Linked DNA regions of Homo sapiens: region 2 is linked to region 1. The links are contacts of gene promoters, found by promoter capture Hi-C in blood cells and fetal thymus (Javierre and others, 2016). All regions are on one chromosome and are shown on one strand. Each heading gives the region's core, a stretch centred on a gene start or on the middle of the fragment in contact. The rest is flanking DNA. Distances are from core to core; before and after follow the strand shown.

What was found. Contacts are between HindIII fragments. The CHiCAGO score rates a contact against its expected background, and 5 or more counts as called.
Region 2: a fragment that was not itself captured here is called in contact with the fragment with the promoter of SLC17A4 in region 1 in 2 of 17 cell types (megakaryocytes and M2 macrophages); the score reaches 5.8 in megakaryocytes.

The regions. Positions count from the first base shown.
Region 1 is chr6:25,750,923-25,757,754 of GRCh38, forward strand. It overlaps SLC17A4 (solute carrier family 17 member 4), which reads left to right and starts at 3,820. Exons shown (of 12, transcript NM_005495.3): 1 at 3,820-3,859. It also overlaps a transcript of SLC17A1 not described here. The HindIII fragment of the contact is 7,086 bases long and covers 2,091-6,832 here.
Region 2 is chr6:25,877,161-25,883,992 of GRCh38, forward strand. It overlaps the pseudogene H2AC3P. Among named protein-coding and RNA genes, the nearest start is that of SLC17A3, 6.3 kb to the left of the region's middle. RefSeq lists an enhancer at 5,073-5,587. The HindIII fragment of the contact is 2,575 bases long and covers 1,134-3,708 here.

The DNA of each region.
Region 1 (6,832 bases), core at 2,570-5,069:
CAAGACCTGTGAAAAATAATATCCTAGGGGAATTACTCATGGCATGCACAGCCACAGATTAATTAGGGATTATCACATATGCGGAGATAGGAGGAAGACTGAAATAGCTACCCACATGATCTCAGATTTCTTTGAACTACAAACTCCTGTGCAATTCTGTCTGCAATTATCTTTTCTGTGTCCTAGCATGACACATTGGGTGTGCATGGGTGTGTAGGGGAAGCAGACACCTAGTCTCGTTAGTTCATGAGTTTCTGGAGCAAGACAAGTCATATTCAACCTGACGAGATAATATCATAAAATTGTCAACATCAGCCCTGAAGCTATAATTAAATGAGACTTTGACTTGGCTTTTCATAGGAAGGGATTAAGTATATTTTGTGTGCAGAAAGGATAGTTTACTAACTAAATAATTTTGAATTGAAGCTTGGACAGTGATAGCTTATATGACTGTTCAAAAATTTTCCCTGGCCCTGCCCTGGAAAGAATTGTATTTCTCTATTTTGGTTCTATTGGGCTTGGCCATCTGACTTGCTTTGCCCAATGAAATTTGAGTGGAAGTGACACCTAGGCAAAACCTGTAAGAGCAAGCACTTGGCTCACCATAATTTCTCTTTTACTTCTGCCATGAGACCATCCATATTCCAAATAAAGCCTGATTTGTCAAACTGGGCCCCTAAGTGAGGAAAACATGGTGAGAAGCTGTAGCCAAGACACGATGGTCATGAATTGTGAACAGCACATAAAACTTTGTTATTATAAGCAACTGAGATTTTTGGGTCATTTGTTATCCCAGTGTAACTTAGCTTATCCTGACTGATAGAGCCATCATCAGTTTATTGGCTTTCATCTTGCTGTTGTCTAATGAGCCTCAGGTACTTGCCATACCTCAAGACCTGATATCCACTGTTACGGCAGAAGGAAAAAGAAAAAAGAAAAAAAAAGATGAGACACAGGCCTACTTCTTTTTATGCATCAATGGCCAGAAATGTGTAGGCCCCATTTGTTTCAAGGAAGCCACAGAAATGAAGTTTTTGTTCCTATATGCCTTATAGTAGATACAAGCTAGGGCACAGAAATTTGGAAATGTGGTTTTGCTTAGCCAATTAATAATGCTGGCCACAGAAACTCATCTACTGCTTCTTCTCCCCACAGAGCATGTGCTGTATATTTGCTATAATACAAACACGCGACGCTTAACCATAGGAATACATTCTGAGAAATGTGCTGTGCGGCAGTTTTGTTGTGTGGATACCATAGAGTGCAGTTACACAAACCTAGATGGTAGAGCTTGCTATACACCTAGGTTATGTGGTCTAGCCCATTGCTCCTAGGCTACAAACCTGTACCACATGTTACTATACTGAATATTGCAGGCAATTAAAACAGTGATATCTGAGAATCTGAACATATCTAAACATAGAAAAGGTACAGTAAAAAGATAAAAAATGGTATGTCTAGGAGACTTATCATAAATGGAGCTTGTGAGACTGGAAGTTACTCTGGGTGAGGCAGTGAGTGAATGTGAAGGCCCAGGACATGCCTGTACACTGCTGTAGACTTTGTAAACACTGTGCACTTAAGCTACACTAAGTTTATAAAAAAATTTTATTTCTTCAATAATAAATTCTAGCTTACTATTTCATTTTGACTTTATAAACTTTTAAATGTTTTTAAACTTTTTGACTCTGGTAATCACAGCTTAAAACACAAACATATTGTACTGCTGTACAAAAATATTTTCTTTAGGCCGGGTGCGGTGGCTCACGCCTGTAATCCCAGCACTTTGCGAGGCTGAGGTGGGCGGATCACAAGGTCAGGAGATCGAGACCATCCTGGCTAACACAGTGAAACCCCGTCTCTACTAAAAATACAAAAAATTAGCTGGGCGTGGTGGCAGGCGCCTGTAGTCCCAGCTACTCGGGAGGCTGAGGCAGGAGAATGGCGTGAACCCGGGAGACAGAGCTTGCAGTGAGCCGAGATCACGCCACTGCAGTCCAGCCTGGGCAACAGTCTGAGACTCCGTCTCAAAAAAACAAAAAAAAACAAAAAAAAAACACCAAACATTTTCTTTATACCCTTATTCTATAAGCTTTGATCTATTTTTAATTTTTAAAAATTAAAAAAGATTTATTAAAACTAAGACACAAATATGCAAGTTAGCCTAGGCTGACACAAAATCAAGACCATATTAGAGGCTTCTTGGAAAATCTATTTTCAAGTGTTTTACTTTTCTAACAACATTGGTAAAACACTTGGCAATCATCTTGGGGAATTGGGCATCACTGACAGGAGGAACTGCAAGTGTAAAGGCCTTGAACTTCATGGACAAGGCAGAACTAGTTGGAATTTAGTGAGGGAAGGACAGCAGGGCAGAGGTCAGTAAGGTTGGTGTGTCCAAGGTGATGTAAGGTGTTGGAGCACCTTCAGGAAGGTGAATTTGCTCTCTTTTCTCCTAGGTTCTCTGGGAAGGCTTTGGAAGACTTTTACACCAGTAAGTAACATGATCATATGTACATTTCCAACATTCTGCCTGCTATGTGGGGTGGATTAAAAGAGAGAGAATGGAAACAGTGGGGCCCGGTAAATAATCATTTTATTTACCCTGGTGATAGATGATTGTGATAGGAATGGAGAAAATAAAAAATAATGGAAAGAGATGAAGGTGGAACTGATAGAACATACTGTTGGAATTAATGTTGATGGAAAGTATAGAATGAAGGCTGACTTTTTTTTGGCAAGATTAACAGGGAAATGGTAATGCCATTAACCAAGATGGGGGATCCTGGGCCAGGAGTAGGGTTGGAGGGAGATTCAGTTCTGCTTGCAGTCATAAGACTGAGATACCTAATGGGTACTCAAGGAGAGATGGATGAAGTTGAAGTCGAAGCTCAGAGAAGAGGTCAGAATTGGGTGTGAAAGGAAAGGGGACTGGCTGAGATCTCCTTGGGAGTGAGTTTAGATAGGGAGGAAGTTCAAGGACAGAGTCTTAGGCATATCAACATTAGAAACCAGAGAAAAGATAAGGATTCAGCAAAACGTATTGACAAGGAACAACCAATGAGACACGAGGAAAATCAGATCTGAATGAATTAAATGAAACAAGGCATCAAGAAGGAACGAGTGGTGGAATCTGTCAAGCACTGACAGATGGGGCCTGGGATGTGACCACTGGATTTGCTGGCAGAGAGGCTGGTGATGGCTTTGCTAAGGGCTGTCTTGTTGCTGATGGATTCATGAGAAAACTAGAGGTGGGGAACCAGAATGCAAATATGTATGAGTCTTCTGAAATGTTTTGCCATAAAAGGGAGGAGAATCACAGAGTTAATTTTCATGGAAAACTCAATGGCCTTTGTGCAAAAAATTACAATCAGAAAACCATAAAAATCACTCAAGTCGACCAAAATGTATTAAGTCTCTCCTCTTTGGAAAGCTCAGTTCTATTAAACAGCAGGATGGTGGAAAAGGGACTCAAAAGGGGCAAAATATACCCCATCTCCATGAAGATTATAATAACTCTGAGAGACCCCAGAAGGGGATAGTGCTGTCAGTGAAACATGTGGGGTGTCAGGATCCTTATAAGAAGGGACATTGATTCTGATTAAGGATGAGGGAAGACATAGGTGACCTCAGCTGGGCTTGAAGCATGAGGAAGATTTAATGAGCTTGATTTGATTATCAATCAAACAATAAAATGTAAAGTTAAAAATTAAACCACTGGGCCAATAAAATTCTCCAAGCTGGTAACATAAGGGCTAAAGGTTTTGGGTAATTATTTACCTCCCAGAATTAGACAATTGCAAAGAGCTTAGAATATTTATTTGAAAGGAATGAGGATCCTGCACTCTTCCTCCCTCAGGTTAGTTAGCTTTCAAACTTTTACCCTTAATATTCTGCTTTTGAGATGATGGGAATGGGTCTGTTTCTGTTAGAGAGCAGCTTAATTTGCTGTTTAGGGGCAGAGATTGTGGGAGTGGAGAAGAGAATGCCTGTGTCCTGAGATAATTCTGGTAAGTGAGAAGGGATGTTGCATTAAGAGCCCTGGAACTACAGGGAATTAATTCAAGAGAATGAAATTTTCTAAAAGTATAGCTGAACAGAGACAGACAGACAGACACACACACATACACACACACACACACACACACACACACACACACAGAGGAAGAAAGAGAGAGAGGAAGAGACAGAAACTAAATGATATATTTGGATTGTTTTTGTGAAGTACATTAATTTTTTTAAGCATTGATCAAATCCACAGTGAGACAATAAATGCCAATACTGAATTCTCAGAGAGGAAGATTTTCATCATGCCTAAAAAATTAATGAAAACCAAACGGTTCTGGTTTGGTTCCAGCGAATTTATGGGAAAGCAAAATAAATGAAATCTAATATGGCTTTGGGAAGTAGTTAATGATGAAGAGTTTAGGGCAGAGGACTTTATTTGCAAACTGTGAATAAGAGCCATGGGCTGTTTCTCATAAGGAGGAAAAATGTTCAGTGCTGAGACCACCTAAGATGACATTTGAGCTGTTAATAGCTCTGCCCAGCACCTTAAGGAAAAGTCTCATTCTACAGTGGACTGATAACTAGCAGAGGAACAGGGTGCATATGAATCCAAAAAGAACAGACACAAGCAGTCTTGGCAAGAAAAACTGATGAGAAATTGATATAAGAATGGCTGGCTCCATTTCTTTGCTGTTTTTTCCTCATTTACCTGGTTTCAAAATAAATAGATAAGGCTGATGACTCACACATTTATATTTCTACAAAGGCCCTTCTGTTCTTAGCTATGGACTCACAGACACAAAACTTACCTGTCAATCTTCCCTTCTGGGTCTAACAGGAGTCTCAACCCCAAGTGTCCAAAATAAAGTTCTTGCTTTTCCTCTGGAACCTGTTGCCCTCCCTGCTCATTTCGCCAACTTCTTTGAGTGCAACACTATTCACTCATTTGCTCAAGCCGTAAGTCTAGAAGTCTCTGATGATTCTTCCCTTTCTCTCATTCCCATATACACCTCATTAGCAAGTCTTAGTGGCATATCTCCAAAACAGGTCCTGAATGTGGTCTTTTTCACCACAACTAGCCTAGCCCATCCACCATCAACACTTGTACAGGTGAAGAAACAACTTCTTGTTCAGTCTCTTGGTTCTCAATCTTGTCCTTTACAGCCCATGTGCCACACAGTGGCCATAGTAGATCCAGTCCCCTTACCAGGCCTATAGGACCCAAAATGGTCTGGCCATTTTGGGAGATCGAGACCATCCTGCCCACCCCTTTGATCTCATCTCCTACCATTAACCTCCTCATTCACTCTGCATCGCCATGTTGGACTACCTTCTGCCTAGAAAAACGTGACAAACTTGCTGGTTCCTCTGCCTGGAATTGTTCTTGCTCAGCGCTGTCTCCTTCTCAGTGTTCCCGTTTCAGCTCAAATATAACCATTTCACACAACCACACTAGGTAAGTGGTTAGACTAGGCAGAGTGCTTGCCCTCCTCTCCTGATGCTAATGACCTAGTTGCTGTCAATGCTACTCTTGTTTTTTTCATACCATGTGGCATTCTTACTTCTTTCTTTTCATATGTGCCCCTCCTGGGATGTAACTTTCTCGCAGGTGTACTGTCTGTGCCTGCATCACGCTGTCCCCACAACAGCACTGTCCTCCCTTCACCCTCGGCTGTCTGTTCCCACTGCTCTCATTAACGCCAGCAAAACCATTATCGCCTGTTACTGAAAAAACTGGCAATTGATTTCTGGTTATAATAAGTAAAAGGAGAGGGCAATTTAATGAGAACTAAGTTCTTCAGTCATGCAGGAGATGGAGCTATGAAAGCACAACATTGCATTCATTGATTCAATAAATATTTACTGAATCAATGAATGAACTTGCGGCCAGTGAACTCTTAGACATTGGAACACTCGAAGAGTCTGTGTGGGTATAGCTTGTGGAAAAAAATGTTGCCCTGAAAGCTATGTCTTTAGTTCTTGTGACTGATATGATTTTTTCAATTCAACTAATTGCCCTGAGGTGTGAAAATAAATGATAAGCAAATTATTTTTCCAGCAGACTATTCAGTCCCCTCATTTTACCAAGTTTCTTTTCAGAATTACCAGAACCATTCCATTTGCCAATGAGTATTTGTTTGGATTTCAATTCAATTTTGAGTGTGTTTTCGAATTCCAGTGCAGACTAGAGGGTTCCATGGTCTAACATCTGTGGTTTTGAATGACATCATTGAGGCAACTTCTCTGTCAGTTGCTTACTTACCAGCTTTAGTGGTACGTTACATAACATTTCCACTTATCTTTAAACACAATAGCACCAAAGGATCAGGTCTATTTTCTTTTATATTAATAAGAATAGTCCTTCACAGAGAGCACATGGAAAATGATTTCATTTCACCAGCACCTACTGCTTATCCCTTTACATTTTATTCCTTTACATCTGCTTGGTGCTGTAACTTTATATCTGCTTGGTGCTGTAACTTCTCTGATCATTGTCAGTAGTAATAGATTTATTGCTTATTTGTAGTCTTCAAATAATCTCATTTTTTAATTAATAGGTCCAGTCCAGTGAAAACCAGAAAATTCCAAACTTGATCTAAAAGTATACCTTCTTTCCCCTGCCCCCCAACCCGCTGCTCCAGTTTGGGCCTGGGGAGGGAAGGGATCATTTGGTTGGTTTCTTGATCCCTTTCTCTGTCAGCAACTCCTCTCACCCCTCTTGCTAGCTGTGGCTTCTGATCTTTCCAGGGCTGGTGGGTAGGGAGTTAGAAGCAAGAAGCAGGAAGTGTCTTTCTTAGCTGGAGCTCTTGTGACCTGGCATTGG
Region 2 (6,832 bases), core at 1,171-3,670, 120 kb after region 1:
ACTATTTTGCCAGGAATGCCCAGCTAAAACTGCAAAATCATATATTGAGGACAATGGCTATGGAAAAGAAGAAAGAACAATTGTGACAAGTATAATCTCTAGGAGAATACACAAAAAAAAAATCAGGAGTGCTTATGGGCTGAGGTGTTATATGCTTTCAGATAGAATAGTAAACAAAATTGATATCTGTAGTGCATAAAGGATGTCATAATTATCAAGTGAGAAAGTGTTGCATTCTTTAACCAGCACAAGTTACAAAATTATACCATGCTGAATTCATATCAAGACAACTTCACCTACTACCAGGGACTTAGAGTAAATGTATTTTACTTTGTTGAGTCTCACTTGGAGATCATTGAAAAAAATTAGGAATAAATCATGAAACAAAATGAAACCATCCACCATACTTTGCATATAACAGAAAATCAATCAATGAAGGTCATCTGTCATAATTATCATTACCATTATTATTTCTATGACCACCTCTGAGACGTCATGATTAATATTCATGATTGAAATAAAGCAATTAAAAATCAAATTCATTCAAAATAATCAAATATAATTTAATTAAAAAGTTGGAGGCAGTCAGCCATCAGTCAAAAAATATTGTTACTGTATGCATTCCAAAAAGAAATGTAAAGGGATAGCATTCCCTAGAAACAATGAATAAAATAAAATTCCCTGTATTTAATAAACAGCATCTGTAAAACCTACAACAAACATTCCGAAGGTGAATCTTCCTGTTACAATCAGATACATAAAAGAGGTGTTTGCTACATCTATTCACTGGAAGGCCTAACTAGCACAATAACACAAGAAAGAAATGTGAAGCAATTAGAAAACAAGTAAAACTATGATTATTAACAGATGATATGATTGTCTACATAAGAAAACAAAAAAAATCTGTACATAAATTACTTAACTAATGTGAGTTTGGCAAATTTGACAGATGGAAAAGTGATATTCAAAGACTGACTGCATTTTAATTACCAGCCCAAAACAAAAAAAAAGATATTATAAAAAGAGATACAATTCACAATGGCAATAAAAGAATGTAACAGCCACAAAAGGATATAAAACCTAGGAATAAATCTAATAAAAGATGTAGAAGATCGTTACGCAGAAAATTGTAAAGCTTTATTGTAAGGTATTGAAGTCGAACTAAATAAAGAGACATAACATTTTTATGAACAGGAACATTCAAAAATGTAAAAATCTCGTCTCTCCAGACTAATCCATATGCCATTCCAACCAATATTCCAAAATAATTTTCCATATAATTTAATTTACTAAATATATCCTCAAATAAAGATGGTGGTTATCTCTTTCTTTGTAATCATTCTTCTACTCTGCCCCTCACCCCCTTTTCAGAGACTCCTTGTAATAAGGCCTATTTAACACTAAATACGTGCTGAACACTATTCTAAGCACTTTACATACAATAACACTTTTACTTCTCATAGCAAACTTCTATGGTAGGTACTATTATTATGCCAGTTTACAGAGAGGTTAAGTAACTTGCTAGTAAGCTACGGAGTCAGGAATCCAACCACCCAGAAAGTCTGGCTGTTGTGTCCATTCTCTTACCCTCCAGACTATTTCATCTGTTACGCAAACATTGAAACCAACTTTCAACATCAGTTTCCTATAAAATTTCCCTCTCATTATTCTTCCTTTTGTATCTTGGCATTACTGTGAATTTCACCTGTATCAATTTTCTTCCAAATTCCTGAGATCACCTGCCTACCTTCCTTCCCTTCCTTCCTTCCTTCTTTCCTTCTTCCTTCCTCCCTCCTTCCCTCCTTCTCTCCTTTCCTTCCTTCTTCCCTGCTTCATTTTTTTCTTATTCTTTCCTTCCTCTTTCCCTTCCTTTCTTATTTCTTTCCTTCTTCCCTAATTCTAAGGATATTTGTCATTTCTAAGAAAACCTTCCTTTTCACATATCTAATTTTTGTTTTAAGTATGTCAGCATATATTTCTGATATTATTCATTTATTTATGTTAAATATTTATACTAACATTCTTCTAGTTTGGAGAGGGGTTCTAGTTTTTCTGTTAATTTTGGTGCTCTGTCTTGAGGATGTTGAGTTGTACTTGTCTATTGGTTTTTGTTACAAGCGATGGTGTTGAATTGCCAAATAGAAGAATACCTTTCCAAAACTTAAATGTTATTTACTACTGAAGTTCAGGTTAATGAACTTTCTGATTCTGAGAACTTGTCTTAGCAGATGAGGGTGAATGTTGGTTGTGCTGCCGGGATGGGTGTATGAGGTGCTGGCATTTTGAATCTGGGAGCTCCATGTTCTTACCTGAAACATTTTTATTTCTTAGCCCCTAGTGACCACATCAATCACTTAAAGTGTAGCTAGATTGCAAGTCTTAGCTTGGAGAAAAATGAAAAGGGTAATTTCTCTCTTATTCTCCTCTTTTTTATTTTATTTTTTCCCTCTGCCTCCTTTATGAAGGGGAGTTTGCTGCGGCTTGACATGGCTTTTCTCAGCTTCCAACATTTACACCAAAAGCTCTTAATTTGGCTCAGTTCCTTTTGATTCCTCCCTCTCCCACTCAGACTCTTATTTTTCTCTTGGTGCTAAACCAGGATGAGGAGCAAGATCATGTCAATGTTGTTACAAGAGAGGATTAAGGGCCAAACCTATTTATTGGCCTTTGTATTGCAGAGTTTAGTTTTTATTGTACTCAGTTGTGGCTTCTATTTGTCAGACACCTGTGCTTACAAGTGATAGAAGTCCAACTGAAATGGCTTTGGAAGAGAAAGAAAGAGAAAAAGAAAATATGGAGACTGAGGTAGGTCACAGAATATAAGAATGAGCAGCTGTAACAAGCACAGTTCCAGGGACCAGAGACTGGAATTAAATCTCTGCCCCAAAATAAATGAAGACCTTTGGAACTCTTATTTCAGCTGTTCTTTTGCACCTTCTCCCTTCTCTTAAATCTACTCCAAGAGGCAACAGACAAGTCTGTTGGCAGTTTTGGAGTCTCATTCATCACATCCATGAAAGCGAAGAAAAAGCAGCTGTGTTCAAAACCTAGGAGAGGCTCTTATTGGCCCAGCCCAGAGTACTTTATTACCATTTGAACCAATTGTTGCAGCCTTGTGGGTGCAGTGCCAAGTTGTCTGATTGGTCACTCCCATCATCCCAATGATTTTCAACCTACAGGTCATTACTCTTATCAATTTAGCACCTCTTATCAATTTAGCCACTATGGTTTTTTAAACAAGATGGATGAGGCCCAAATAGAATGGAACAGATCATAGTGCATCCCACTTAGTAAGAGTCAGGATTATTTTGTGAAACTTTCGATGCTGCAACACATGTGTTTACATATAAGCCTATATATTAGTATTGCAGCACACTTTAAAAATGTATATTTTTTACTCTAGGTCAGTCATACTCCAAAAGGGTTAAAATTCTTCTCTTTACTGCACGTTTTATGTATTTTATTTCTATTGATAATGCCTCTGATTCCCAGACATAATGCTTTTGGTTGGACTTTCAAAAAGGACGGCCTAGAAGATAATTGTTCAACCATGTAATTGCTTCACTTTTCATTACCCTGTGGGTTTATTGGGCAGCTACATCTATTTCTCCTCTGGACTCCAAAGTCAAAGGTTGTGTTTTGTACGCATGCTTCTTTCTTTACTCTAGGTCAAACTCTATTCCACAGTCCAGTCTGGGAACTGACGTAAGCTTCTAGTTGTTAGACAATGGTAGCCATCAAAGAAACTTAAGGTGATCTAAAGTTAGGTTTAATAAAAGTAAATTTTAGACTAACATCTGCCATATGTACAGATATTTATGAAACCATCTAACCATCAGATTGCGCCAAATGTTCATTCCTAGCAGATGCAACACCATTCCAGAGACAGGATTTTGTTACCCTTAGAGTTAGTATCAGGCAAAAGGAAATCAATCTAAACCAATGCTTTGGACACAAGCTTATCTAGAAATGAAGCCTAGGGTATCCTCCATAAAACTACAGGTTACAGACCTTACTGAACTCTCCAGATCTGGACTCTGCAGAGTCCAGCTTTGGCAGAAATGTGGCTGATAGAGGCCATTACAGGAGCGTCCTTTGGCCTGTAACCCTCTTTTACATCAGCCTGGCTGACCACCCTAGAATGAGACCTCTTGGGAAAGCTGACAGCCCACAGAGTGAAACCTTCAACCAATTGGCACATACATACCTCCCTATAGTAAAATATCTAAAGGCTAAATACAATCTTAAACATGCCAAATAAAAAGCACTAAAGCATGTCCCTTAGGCTTGAAGAAATTAATCATCAGTTGACAAATTCATTATAACTTGATGGCAAATAAAACAGCCCACATGAACAAAACTGTTTTATAAGTGCTTTTCTGGATACCACATAAAAATCTCTTTCACAAAATTATTAGGTTAATGCAAAAGTAATCGCGGTTTTTGCCATTAAAAGTAATGGCTTCCCACAACCAGATGTCCCATGCAAAGTAGTGCCCTCTAATGCCAAACCAAAAGCAGAGGTCATAAAGACTATATCCCTTACACACACACACACACGCGCGCGCGCGTTAAAATAATGGCAAAAACCGCGATTACTTTTGCACCAACCTAATACAGCTTGCATTGAAATCCAGTGCTAAACTCAGCTTTCAGGAAACCAATGTGACATAATATTGGTAAAGAAAACAAAGTGGAGAGTATCAGGGTAATGAATGAAAGGAATGGAGAGACTTTGTTGAAATACTCTTGGGCATTATCTGCCTATGCTTTTACTTGAACTCGTGGCTGGCTTTTGGTTTTACTTTTTCTTTCCCCTCGAAAAGTAGGTCATCTGCTCTGCTGGGCTTTATTATCTGGGGACGTTACTTGCCCTTGGCCTTGTGGTGGCTCTTGGTCTTCTGGGGCAGAAGCACGCCCTGAATGTTGGGCAGGACACCGCCCTGCGCGATGGTGACTTCGCCCAGCAGCTTGTTAAGCTCCTCGCCGTTGCGAATGGCCAGCTACAGGTGGCGCAGGATGATGCGGGTCTTCTTGTCGCGGGCCGGGTTGCCAGCCAGCTCCAGGATCTCGGCGGTCAGGTGCTCCAGCACGGCCGCCAGGTACACCTGCGCTCTGGCCCCGACACGCTCGGCATAGATGCCTTTGCGGAGCAGACGGCGCTGGAGCCCGGCCAGGGAAGACCAAGTCTGGGACTTCAGCGCCAGCCTCGCCACCCTGCTTCCCACAACCAGATGTCTCCTGCGAAGTAGCCCCCTCTAATGCCAAACCAAAAGCAGAGGTCATAAGGACTATATCCCTTACACACACACACACACACACACACACACCCTAACGGCTAACTTCTCTGGAAGGTGCCTCATCCAAGCAAAGCAGAACTGAAGATACTTTTACATGCCTTTTTCCGTTATTTTTTATCCAATCAGACTTTTTCAGACTTCCTTTGAATACAAGTATCTGCAGGATTTTCCTTGTCACCTGTAGACACTTTTTCTCTTTTCAAGGAAGCTAGAAACAGATTTTGATATGCCTAAAGTTTTGAAGTGTTCTACAATCTCTAGAAAGGGCTCCAAGAAAGCCATATGTAATATGCATTTTTTGTATAATTTGAGAATATTTATTTCCTCTATAGAGAGCAAGAAAATGAATGGGAAGTGGATGTATGAAAGTCATGTGTTATGTATTCATGGAAATTAATAAGTATATCATACATAGGTTAAGAAATGGGAGGACAAAGAGATAACTATATTCATGAGGCCTGAAATAAACAAGACACCTGGGCACAAGATACTTATGATATACTAAATATACAGCTAACACTAGATATCCAGGGTACACTGAAGGTTATACAAGCACCCAGTATTTTCAAGGCCTTGATTCAGCCACCTACTGGGGACACCCATTCTGTCACCATGTGTTCTCTGTTCAAGAAACACACTACTATTCAGCCTTTAACAATAAGGAAGTCATGCTGTTTGTGAAAACATGGGTGAACCCAAGGAACATTAGGGTAAGCAAAAAACAAAACAAAACAACAACAACAACAAAAAAAAACAGGCACAGAAATGCAAACACTACATCATCTCACTTGTATATGGAATCTAAGTATATCAAACTTATAGAAGCAGAGAGGAGAACAGAGGTTACCAAACGTTACGGGTTGGGGAAATGTTGGTCAAAGCACACAAAATTTTAGTTAGACAGGAGGAATAAGTTCGGTTCAGGAGATCTATTGTAAAACATGGTGACTGTAATTAATACAATGTATTGTATACTTGAAAATTGCTATGAGAGTAGATTTTAAACGTTCTCACTACAAAAAGAAACGTATGTGAGGTAATGGATAATTATCTTGATTTAGCTGTTCTACAGTGTATACATATATCAAAACATCATGTTGTACAACATAAATATATATATATACAAGATTTATTTGTCAATTTAAAAAAAGAAATAAATAAAACCCATGGCTGTTTAGCATGTCTTTCTCATAGAGCAAGTGTGTGTCATTATCCTCTCCTACGGCACTTCCTGTCTGTGGGATCCCTTGCTGGAATCTCAGTGCTAGTCCTTGTAATCATACCATTAGCTGGGAAAGTTAATGTGGCAGGGAAAGACAGGATGTTGGCACATTCTGTACTTCCAGGTCAGCACTATGGTCCTACCATCTTGCTTGCTCCCTATTCTAAGTATGTAAAATTATGCTATCTTTTTCCCTTGCTTCTTGCAGTGGATTTTAAATTTATTTAACCAACCATGCATATCTATCATCTTTATTTGGCCTGTGAGATTTTCTGTTCCATAGGTGGCCTGCCTCCTTATAGCAAACTTG